Linked DNA regions of Homo sapiens: region 2 is linked to region 1. The links are contacts of gene promoters, found by promoter capture Hi-C in human tissues and cell types (Jung and others, 2019). All regions are on one chromosome and are shown on one strand. Each heading gives the region's core, a stretch centred on a gene start or on the middle of the fragment in contact. The rest is flanking DNA. Distances are from core to core; before and after follow the strand shown. Region 1 holds the start of CLHC1 (clathrin heavy chain linker domain containing 1). Region 2 overlaps SPTBN1 (spectrin beta, non-erythrocytic 1).

Region 1 (6,227 bases), core at 455-2,954:
AGGTTAGGCATGGTTCTAAATCTTTACATGTCACATTTTACCGCATTTAATATTAGGGACAATACTTGGTTGTCTGCAGTGGCTGACACCTGTAATACCAATACTTTGGGAGGTCGAGGTGGGCAGATCACTTGATGTGAAAAGTTCAAAACCAGCCTGGCCAACAAGGTAAAACCCAGTCTCTACTAAAAATACAATAAATTAGCCAGGCATGGTGGTGCACGCCTGTAATCCCCACTAATAGGGAGGCTGAAGCACAAAAATCACTTGAACCCGGGAGGCGGAGGCTGCAGTAAGCCGGGACAAGCGAATGCACTCCAGCCTGGGCGACAGAGGAGACTCCATCTCACACAAAATAAATAAATAAGTGTCCAAATTCACGCAAGTGAAATACACCTCAAGGATTCCAATCTAGGTACTGTGCTCCCCGATCACCAATGTCTATTGTGTTATTCCACAAGTATTTCGCTTTGTCAATCTGACCCCTTCCCCCATCACCAAGAGCAGGTATGTCTAGCACCTACAGGTAGGCCGAAGTCTCCGCAGGTTAAGTTTTCTTAACTACAAAATACTACTTGCCTTCCTTATCCTGGATCTTGGCCTTTACATTTTCTATCGTATCCGAGGGTTCAACCTATGAGTGTTAAAGTGAAAGCATGTTGGTTACACATTAAGGAACTACAGCAGAACTCATTTAGTTTGACAATTACCACTGAACCGAACCAGCGACAGGGCTGAGACCTACTCGAGAGACCTATTACCCACCCAGTGGGCAACCTCCCAAGTCGGCTACCGGAAAGCACCTTCATCTCCCCAGCCCAGAGCGGGCGGCGGCCGCAGGGCCACACGTGCTCGCACCCGGCGGGCAGAGCGTCTCCTTCCCCACCGCAGCTCCTCCGTTTTAACTAACTAGCTGGAACCCCTCGAGAGGAGACAGGTCCAGCCTTTGGCCACCGAAAATCACCTCTAGGTCGTTGCTCAGCAAAAGGTACTCATTTCAAAGCTTAAGTTTTAGAACCCAAATTCGGAATCATGGTCTAAGACATGGAAAGCAGCGCCGGTCCTAAAATCCACCTCAGGACCTTATTCGGACCTTGGCTTCCTCATGACCACCCGGCCCGTACCTCGAGGGTGATGGTCTTCCCCGTAAGGGTTTTCACGAAAATCTGCATTTTGGTGGCGGCTCCACCTGAGGTTGAGGAAAAGGAAGAGACAGGTTAGGTCAGGGATCACAAGAGAAGGCACCATAGGGTGCTAACCCGAGAGCAGCCGAAGTGCAGACACCCACCGCAGATGGCGGATCGAAAAGGAAGAACGCCGCGCAGGCCCACGGGGTTTCCCGGAGCTCCCGCCGAAGGACCCACCCCTTAGGCGACCACACCAAATGCCTGACTGCCGTCCCAGCGACAATCCAACCCGGTGCCAGACTAGGACGTGAACTTCGTTTCTCCTCTCCCTAGCCTGGGCTTATTTCTCACTTTAGCCTTCGGAATGCTTTCGAAACTGTAGGTTTAAGCAACGTAAAAGATGTTTTAAAAAGGCTTTTCCCGTACAATCAACGTGGCTAAGAGAATTTTTAAAAGGAGGTCGAGGGGGGCCTCTTGGGGAAGAGGTAGGAAATGGAAGTGCATTCTGGGAACTGTAGTTCTCCACTGCTTTCTTCTACCTTGGACTACTTGTCCCAAGATGCAGTTCCACCTCCCAGATTCCCTAGTTACTATCTCTAAGCACTGAAGTCGGTGTTTGGAGAAAAGGACTCAGGTGAGGACTGGAGGTAGGATGAAGCGGAATAATGGTTTCCGGAGCGTGGGAACGGGCCGGAAGTGACTAGAGCAAATGTTAAGCGGGGGGCAAAGGGTGCGGGGCACGAAAGGTGTCCTTCACTCACTTCCAGAAGCGGTGATGGGCAGAGAATCAGCAATCTACCAGACGCTCCTTGGGCCTTCAAGGGAAGGGAATTTGCGTGGCCTGCTCCAGGCAAACTGAAAAATAGGTGAAATCTGCGGAAGCGGGGGTTCAGCCCTTTCTCTCCTGTAGCGCCTCCCTGCTTTCAACCGCCGAGTCTCTCCCAGCCTAGGGAAGAGTCTGGGTCTTGTGTGTCACTCCTTAGTGTGACACGCTTTAATATGTTGAAAAATCTCAGGAGTTTTCAAATTTTAAAGTGAAGCCGTACGGAAAAGAAACCTGCAGAATGGTTATTTAGTTGTAGAATTTCCAAATTTGGGCATTGGGAGTCTTGGATCTGAGAGGAAGTTTTTGGAGTATGTATGGGGTGCTTCTTCCGGCAAGGAGGCCAATTAGAAGCAAGTTCTCCCTGTCCTTTCTCCACTCCACAAACCAGAGTCCTTTCTAATGTCTTCTGTATTTATTTCTTCATCCTCTGCCCTCTGCGACCCCATCCCCAAATTCAGACCTTAATTTTCTCTTGTAGGGGTTCCGAATCTAACTCCTTATCTCTCTCCAGTCTTTCCTCCTTTCTAACCCACCTTCACTATTGCCTCCAAAATATTCATTCTGAAAGGTAAATGTGTGTTATTATTTTATACCTCACCTTCAGGATACAATTCAAATTTCTTAGAATGACATTCAGCCTCTGCCTTCCTTACAACCTAATCTGCTAAACCCATTACTCTACATTTTAGTAAATGAAGCTAATTTAATTTCCTGACCTATGCCCTCCCGTGTTTTGGCATTTCTGAAGAATCCAGTCGTTTATTCTTCCTGGAACTTTTTTTTTTTTTTTTCGTGAGACGGAATTTCGCTCTGTTGCCCAGGCTGGAGTGCAGTGGCGCGGTCTCGGCTCACTGTAAACTCCGCCTCCCAGGTTCAAGCAATTCTTCTGCCTCAGCCTCCCGAGTAGCTGGGATTACAGGCGCCCACCACCACACCCGGCTAATTTTTGTATTTTTAGTAGAGATGGGGTTTCACCATGTTGGCCAGGCTGTTCTCTAGCTCCTGACCTCAAATGATCCATCCTCCTTGGCCTCCCAAAGTGGTGAGATTACAGGCGTGAGCCACCACGCCCTGCCTCCTGGAACATTTTTCATCCCCTAGTCCGCCAACTAGTCTCTACAACAAAATTTCCTAGAGTTGCTTGTACATATTGTCTCTAATCTTTCCCTTCCGTTGTCTGAACCCACTCCTGTCAGGCTTTTGTCCCCACCATTCTGATCGGATAGCTCTTGTAATGGTCACTAATGACCTCCATGTTGCTAAATTCAATGGTCATTTCATCTTATTTGATCTGTCAGCAGTATTTGACACAGTTGCTCATTCCATCTCTCTTTGAAAACCTTTCAAAGACTTCACCTCTCAGTTTTTCTGCCACCCTGGAGGCTCTTTTCCAGGCTCATTTGCTGCTTCCTCTTGATCTGCAAGACCTCTAACCATGGAGTATCCCCAAGGCCCAGTCCTTGGACCTCTGCTTTGTCTGCATTTTCTTGGTTATCTCATTTTTGTTTAATAACTTTTAAAGTATCATCATATGCAAATGACTCATAAACTTATCTGTCAGACCAGATATGTCACAGATATGTCACAACTTCATCTTCACATATCCAGCTATCTACTCAACATCTCTAATGGACAGGCCCCAAACACTTAATCTCATGAAATTGCTCTTCCCATGTTTATATATGGCAATTCCCATTTCTCCAGTCACTAAGGCCAAAAACTTTATGATTATCCTTGACTGTTCTTTTATATCCCACATCTTATCTACCTTGGCAGATCTTGGCTTTATTTTCAAAATATATGCAGAACACTTCCTACCACCTCCATTGTTAGCACCCTGATTCAAGCCACCATCATCTTTTGCCTTGATTATTGCAGTAGCTTCGTAACAGCACTTCCAGCTTTGACCCTTGCGTCCTATAATCTGTTTTCCACAGAGCAACAAGAACAATTCTTTTTTTTCTTTTTTTTGAGATGGAGTTTCGCTGTTGTTGCCCAGGCTGGAGTGCAATGGCACAATCTTGGCTCACCGCAAACTCTGCTTCCCGGGTTAGGTGATTCTCCTGCCTCAGCCTCTCCAGTAGCTGGGATTACAGGCATGCGCCACCACGCCCAGCTAATTTTGTATTTTTAGCAGAGACAGGGTTTTTCCATGTTGGTCAGGCTGGTCTGGAACTCCCGACGTCAGGTGATCTGCCCGCCTTGGCCTCCCAGAGTGCTGGGATTACAGGCATGAGCCACCATGCCTGGCCAAGAACAATTCTTTAAAATGTTAAGTCAGCTCTCCCACTCTTCTGCACACAGGCCTCTAAAGGCTTCGAATCTCACTCAGAGGAAAGCCTAAATTCTTACAAGTGAGGCTGTTGCTCCAGTGCTGGAACAAGTAGAGGCCACAGTCCAGTGTTGCTCCTCTTGCCAAGTCTGCCCAGAGAAAGGGACCTCTTTTTCTAAACCGCACAAAGGTACCCCCTAGGCTGATAGTAGTTCTGCCCTCAAGACCCTACATGCTACATAATCTGGCAGTTACCTCTCTGATCTCATCTCTTCTCTCCCTTTCTCATTCTCTTCTAGCCCCACGGGCCCTCTAGCTGTTCCTCAAATGTGTTGTCCCACCCTGAGGCCTTTGGACTGGCTACTCTCTTTGCCTCAACCACTCATCTCCCAGGAATCTACATGACCTGCTATTTTCAGATTTCTGAAATGTCACCTTATCAGTAAGCTCTTTTGTCTTTCCTGACTTACTGCCCTTATAGAAAATGGTATCCTCCCACCTTCCTTACTCTCTATCCCCCATACCTTGTTTTATTTTTCTTCATACAACTTAACCCCTATCTGTCATACTATATTTCTATATATATATAATTTTTTTCTTTCTTTTTTTTTTTTTTTTTTTGAGACAGAATCTCCCTCTGTCGCCCAGGCTGGATTGCAGTGGTATGATCTTAGCCCACTGCAACCTCCACCTCTCTGGTCCAAATGATTCTCATACCTCAGCCACCTAAGTAGCTGGGATTATAGGTGTGAGCCCCTGCGCCCAGCTAATTTTTATATTCTTTAATAGAGACTGGGTTTTGCCATGTTGGCCAGACTGATCTCAAACTCCTAACCTCAAGTGATCCACCTGCCTCGGCTTTCCAAAGTGCTGGGATTACAGGCATGAGCCGCTGTGCCTGGACTATTTTTTTTCTTGTGTGTTGTCTGTTTCTACATGAATGTAACCTTTGTGAGATTAGGGACTTTGTTTTGTTCAATACTGTGTCTCCATTGTCTAGAATAATGGCAGACAAACAATAGGTGTCCCCCAAATATTGAATAAATAAATGTAGCACAACTTAAGCATTGCCCTAGATTTTGTTTTACTAGATGTTTTCCCTAATGTTTCCTTGCCCCCTTCCGTAGGCTGATGAGATGCCCCTCTGGCCTTCTGTAGCCTATTGTGCTTACCTCTGTCACACTGCCTTTTCTGCTTTGTAGCAGTGGCTCATTTACTAGACCTGGAACACTTGACTGGGAACCCTTGTGACTTGTCAACACATCCCTAAATGTCTAATATGAATGAATGAATGAATGAATGGTAATCTTGGTTGGTTTATGTAACTCAATGGCATTTTGTAGATGTTAAGGAACAATCCCTTTAGCTGTGTTCTGGTTTGAGAGCACCACAAGTCCAATGTCTTATGAATAGACTAGATTATTGTTCAGTGATTATTGATTATTCAGCAAACATATGTTTGAGTACTGCTCTGCTAGAAACTGCATTATGCACTTGAATGCATATGGTAGAGGAGGGATGATGGGGAAAGAGAACATTTTGTTTCCTGATCTTGTCACGCTTACAGCCTAACAGATGAGACAGAATATAAACAGGAAGTCTCTAAGGCAGTGTGGTGGAAGGATAATACCATGATGGAGGAAGTGCACAGTATTATGGGAGAACATAGCAGTGGCATCTGACCAATTTTAAGGGAATCCAGGACAGCTTTCCTGAAGCTGAAGAAAGAGTAAAAGCCAGGTGAATCAAAGTGATAGTATGTATGTGTTTTGGGGGTTGGGGGTAATATAGGAGGATGGTCTGCAGGGAGGGGGAGAGAATTATGTAAGATCCTAAGGTAAGAGAGGAAGTTCATGGGTGTGGGAATGGGGATATGGGGCAAAGGACAGGGACATGAAGAGAGTAAATTTGGTCAAAGAAAAAGAGTCATTAGTTTCTGAAGGGCACTAATAGGCCAAGTAAAGGAACTTGGATTTTATCCTAAGGGTAATACGGTAGGAAG
Region 2 (5,833 bases), core at 1,115-3,614, 630 kb after region 1:
TCTTTGAACTTTACTCAGAAAACACACATGCACACATTCACAGATTTCCTCCTCTGTAAAGGAAGTGGCTCTAAGAATCTATTAATTAAGTAAATTGAATCACCTAGTCCCTCAAACATTTATCTGCTAGCTATTGCCAAGCTGGTGGTTAAGTGCTGGGGCTAAAATGCTGGCTGACAAAGACTGGGCTCCAGATAGAGTGCAAACATTTATGTTACCCAGGGTTTTGGACCACTGGTGCAGAAAGCCCAGCTAATGTTATCTGATGACACACTTAGCTGGGACATTCATTTACCCAGGCCTGGAAGCTCTAACCACCTCATTAGTTCTGGAATCTGAATATGCAAGGAACCTTTGGGGCAAGCTCTCATGGAGGTCTTCTGCAGGGAGGATCTTTAACTTGAGGTCCTGGCAACCTCCACGGCCAAAGGCAGTGTGTGGTGTGTTTCCTTTCCAGGAAGTTCCATGAACCAAACAGACTACGAGGCCAAAGAGACTTAAAATCTCCAGCCCAGATGAACAAGAGCTTTAAGAGCACTCTATCTATGGTATCTTTATTTTTGGAATAAGAAAATTAGACTGGCCAACCTATATAATCCAAGATGGCTGTGAAGAATGGGTAATACAAATGAAGGCACTAGGGGCTTTACAAAGTTCTGTAAAACTACTGATATCGACTGCCTAAGAGGTTGGAGATGGTAGCCACTGTACCATCTTCTTCATCCTTACTCTCCTAGGTCTCTGGGTTGCCACAAAAAAACTTACTGCTAACAAATAAGGAGAGGAGTGGGAGATACTCACACACATCTAAGAATTATGCTTTACTGGTTTTTCTCCCTACTTATATTTTTCTTGCCCTGTTCAGAAAAAACGGCAATGGGCCTGATCCCATTTATGATGTGGACATTATCAAGGACACAATCTTCTTGGTATAAAATAATTATGGGTCTTTAAAGGTGAACAGTTTACTCCCTACAGCCTAGAAGATTGGACCCTATTGGAACAAAAATAAATTAAAAAAAAAAAACCACAAAAATAAATGTTCAGACTAACTCCTATCCATGTGACCTTTAATGATTTTTTTTAGCTACTTTCAAAACACCATTCCCCCACTCCACAAAAAAAAAAAAAAAATCAATAAATAAACATACTAGGTTAAACACTAAGAAACAAAAAAAGGTTGAGAGGTAGACAAAGGAAGTCTGGTTATAAAAATTATACTTAAAGCTGCATATCACAATAATTCTAGTCTAGGCTCTCAAACAAGACTCACTTTGGAAAATCAAATCAAAATGCAATAAATGGCCTGTTCAAACTCCCCATGTGGGTCCACTCCCTCACCCCCAGACCACAAATCAACTGCCTTCTTATAGCCATCATGGTTTTGAGCAGGGGTCTCCGTTATTTGTCTAGTTTGTCTAGTGTGACCGACAAACCCTCACAGAAAATGAGGCCACAAGACCTACATGCTCAGGAACAAAGGGCATGGATGAAACTCACTACAGAGAAGACAGGGCTTCACTATCTTCTGGAGAGCCCTGTTCTTGAACTGAAGGGCAGGGAAGAGAATACTTTTCTGGCTCCATTTCAACCCAGACTCAAAGAGGCAGTCTGTCTCTGAGCTGATAACAAATAGGACAAGGGACAACCTTAGACCCTTGCCTGCGGTCAGAGGTGTGGGGCAGGTCTGCACACAGGCCTACTGCGGCTGGCAAGCTACAGGGTGGAGATCAAGTTAAAAATAAGGCTTTCTGGCAGCCCTGCCAACTGCCAGCATCATATTTTCCTGGTGATGTCAGTACAGATGTGGTCTCCATTCTGGGCGTTGGCTTCTGGCTCGGCACCACTTCCACCTATGGCACTACATGTGCTCTGGGAGGATACAGCAACCATTTTCAAACCAAGGTGAGACAAAACCTGTTGGATCAGTCACAGTGACTGCTTTAAGCTTCTTTGGTATAAGGTGCATAAACAAGAGTCACATCAGAGAGGGCCGCAGCAGCTCTGGGAAACAGATTGGGGATACAATTTTCATTGCAGGCTGACAACTTTCCTGCCTGAAAAGGCAGGGTGAATTCATCAGAAGCTCCTTTCCCAAGGAGATGACAAAACACCAGCTTCTCCCTCCACTCCCAAAATAAAAAGCGTGCAGGGAAGAAAACATCAGTGGCCACTGAATTCAATGCTTGCCACCTTAAGATGGCAGCTCAGATTTTCTAGACAACCAGAAAGACACAAATTTAGAAAACATTCCATCATCGCATGTGGGACACAGGTTCATCTAGAAGCCAGCGCCCAAGCCTGGCCCTTCAAATTCCAGCACCATGCCCTGTTCTTGGCAGGAACCCCAGCCAAGTTCTTTCTGACCAAAGGTGGCAACCTTGCAAATTACCAGAACAAAGTGGCTTTATTACAGCTCAAGAACATCATCCACGCTCAGAATGTGACACTAAGGCTCTCCCTGAAGCGCTCAACTCACTTCTCAAGATTCTCCTCAAAACTATCAACCATTAAGTGCAGAATTCAACAGGAGACAAGTCACACTTGATTTTTCAAAAATATTTTCCACCTACAACACACGGCACTTCCTAAGGTCTCCACTCACCAGCCTCTCTCCAGAGAGGACCTCCAGCAGCTTGATGAGCATCCGTCCATCTCGAAGGTCAGTGTACAGGTCTGTGATCCGGCAGGACACACGGGCAAGGTGGGAATTGACCCACTTGGTGAAGGTCTTCTTCTGCACGGCTTCACGCTCATCTGCAAGCAGAGAAGAACTTGTTTTACCATTGACCACAGAACTGGCAGGAGCAGGCACATGCTAGCAGGGCCACAAGACCCCAGCCAGAGGAAGGTCAGCAAAACTGACCTCCAAGGACACCTCTACTTAGCGCCCCTTAACTGCGGTCATGTCTTTGAGAAAGAACACTGATTACTGATGGTTCAACTTACAATTTTTTGACTTTACGATGGGTTTACTGGGATATAATCTCATAAGTCAAGGAGCATCTGTGTAGGAACTGTCCAGTCCTTAAACATGTGAGCTCCCAGGCACACTGCCAGCAGAACATCCTTTGCTCCCCTTTCTTTTCTCCCATCCCTGCTGAAGAGGCAGCAGGATGCAGATGACAACAGGGTCCTTTGCAGTCCTGCCCTATACCATAATACTTGACTGGTAAAGCTTCCTACATACATGTTACAGCTATTATTCCTCCAAAAGGTGAGTATATTAAAGGGTGTAGGGTAGGAAATCTCATGAGACAGCAGAAAACTGCTTCCCTCATCTACAAAGGATTGGGCAACACTGGACAAGATAAATTAACTCATGACCTTGGCAATGACCGTCTTCACCTGCTCAGTCACACACACCATGAACAACAAAAGAAAATGGCAAGCAACATGGTAGAGTGCAAAGACATCGCAGGCATCGGGAAGTCTTTGCAGGCATCGGGAAAGCAGGGTCTGGGCCCAAGGTTTCAACAAAAATGTGACTCAACACAGGATTCAATGTTCTCTTCTATAAAAGGAGAAGAAAAATATAATCTCCATACTGTGATCCTTCGCTGAAAAGGCAACTGCTGATTTATGGTCTAAAGCGTGATTGTTGTACATTCAAGTCATCCAGGAAACAGTGTTAAAGGTTTTTCAAAGCTCAGTAATCAAATTCTGTCCAATTTAAGGTATAAAACTCTAGACATATTTGCCCAGAACTGGCCTTCACATACCATACAAATAGGCTTTCAAACTTCTTGCCTCTGCAGAATGTTCTAAACATAGGTTGCTGAAGACCTTCAACAGACATCCACAGAACGTACCCTGGACCCAACCACTCTTACTCCCTGACTCTGTTCTCTATGTTACATACACTATATCTAGTTCCACCAGCATGAATTTATGCCAAAAATCTAAGACCTACTCCTAGTGCAAACCCAAATGACAAAAATAATTACACACGAATCTACAAAAAAAAAAAAAAAAAAAAAAAGCAGATAGCTCAACAATTTGGCATGTATTTCAAAACCACTGGGTGGGGGTAACAACTAAAAAGCCACCCTTGCTAATAAGGCATGTGCCCAGTCGCCTGAGAGTACTGGGTTCTCAGGTTGGCCAGAAGGACAGCAAACAGCCCAACACCCTGGGAAGGTCTGTCTGAAGGCTTTGCTAAACTCACTCCACCACCCACCACAGGGAGGGAATGAGGCAGAGATGACATTGGTTGAGGTTTTACAGCTGCCGACCTGGCAGGAGAATCAGCTGGGGCACCTGCCAAGATCCCCGGCCACCTGCTACAGTCAGCGGCTCCTTGAGGTCCTGCCTTTCCCAAAAAGGACCTACCCATCCAGACAGAAGGAGGGCCCTTCCCCAGGGACAAAGGCCAACCAGAAACACAGGATCAAAAAGGACAGGATTAGAGGAAGCAGAAAAAGACAGTAAGGGGCAGGCTGCAGTGGAGAAGCAGCTGCACCAATAACATCATGACAGGTCCCACAGAAAAGACCACATGCATTATTGATCACGTAATCATTGTGATGGATGGCAACTTTACTACAGTGACTCAGGAGCTGTAATTCTGGGGCTAAGCTTGGCCATTCTGAAAGAGCAGGTCTAGAGCAGAATATGTAAGGTGCATTTCACAGATGGCCTCTTATCAAGGAGGCAAGTAACTCATAGTTTATATGTATTTAGGGTTAACAATTTTTTTTGTGAATTATAAAATCCTTTATGCGTTATACTGGAGTCAGAAAATGTCTTTAATGAAGCAAGGGAGCAAGATCAAAATGAAAACCTGCTTGGATTAAAATATTTCTAAATAAACAAGCACAAAATGTGTTCCTCAGCCAATTGTCACTCTTTTGGGTGAATCTCTCACTAAAGGAGCACCCAGACTTCTTTCAGGTTTTGAATTAACAGGTTCTTTCACAAGGAAACTCTGAGGATTTGCCAGAAACAACAGTCAATATACTTCCTTAGTGCCCTGTCCTAAAGAGTTACAGCCCAATCCCAACCCTCCTCCCTACAGAGAGGCAAATGGAGAGGTCATGGGTGGGTGCAGAGAACAGAGCTGAAACAGACTGAGATCTGTGCCGGGAGGGCTCCCCAGGGCTATCATGGTTCTTAGAAACTCAAAGTAGGTGGGAGGAAAGAAGAGGAGGAAGAGATGTCAAAAATAAAAAAACAAGCTCTTGTGTTCCTGCCCTCTCTTCCTGTTCCCCTCCCTTCGAACTCTCCTCACAGTCAGGAGCAGGCCCCACGAAGTGCAAGAGTGCTGGAAAAATCACGCAGGGTCTAAGTTCCTCAGGTTCACACCCCCACGTTGGAAAAGACACAGAAGATTCCATCCGGGGACCAGACCAGAATCAACACCCTCATAACACACGAGGGGCAGGAAACGGACTCAACAGAGACACACAAAGCCCCAGTCAACTAGCGTGTCCTCTTACAATGGAGCACTTGGAGAACAGCAAATGCTTATGAAGTTGGAAGGAGGGAGACAGAGGGGAAAAGAAATCTATTTGGTGGCTCAGTAGAGGATCAGGCTTCGGGTCCTTGGGGACTCCCTCCTTTGTTCCACCTATCCTGGGAAGGCACAATGACATCACCCCTGCACTCCCCACCCAGCAAGGCTTGGGGATATGGGCCAGACAGTCTGAGGAGGAGCAGGAGGCCCTTGGCACTGACGATGAAAGGCAATCCAGGAGTGCTTCCAAGCTCAAGCTGCTGTGACTGGGGCTAGCTGCGTGAGGAGGTGTTGGGGCAGCAGAGGGCAGTGAGCCGACTTCCAGGCCTATGAGCATGAAGCAACCGTGGTTGCTTCTTACAACCACGGTACAAAAGG

Evidence for each region. The method cuts DNA at HindIII sites, captures the fragments that hold promoters and counts their contacts. A contact is called where the count stands out against the background at its distance.
Region 2: a fragment that was not itself captured here is called in contact with the fragment with the promoter of CLHC1 in region 1 in 1 of the 25 tissues and cell types used here (pancreas).

What each region holds. Positions count from the first base shown.
Region 1 is chr2:55,227,770-55,233,996 of GRCh38, reverse strand. CLHC1 (clathrin heavy chain linker domain containing 1) reads left to right here and starts at 1,704. Exons shown (of 13, transcript NM_152385.4): 1 at 1,704-1,774; 2 at 5,793-5,965. RPS27A (ribosomal protein S27a) reads right to left here and starts at 1,309. Exons shown (of 6, transcript NM_002954.6): 1 at 1,289-1,309; 2 at 1,125-1,189; 3 at 580-634. The coding sequence starts at 1,172. RefSeq lists enhancers at 1,030-1,209, 1,230-1,659. The HindIII fragment of the contact is 6,944 bases long and covers 98-6,227 here.
Region 2 is chr2:54,596,016-54,601,848 of GRCh38, reverse strand. It overlaps SPTBN1 (spectrin beta, non-erythrocytic 1), which reads right to left. Exons shown (of 36, transcript NM_003128.3): 3 at 2,606-2,757. Among named protein-coding and RNA genes, the nearest start is that of SPTBN1-AS1, 40 kb to the right of the region's middle. RefSeq lists enhancers at 4,271-4,320, 5,385-5,754. The HindIII fragment of the contact is 3,029 bases long and covers 850-3,878 here.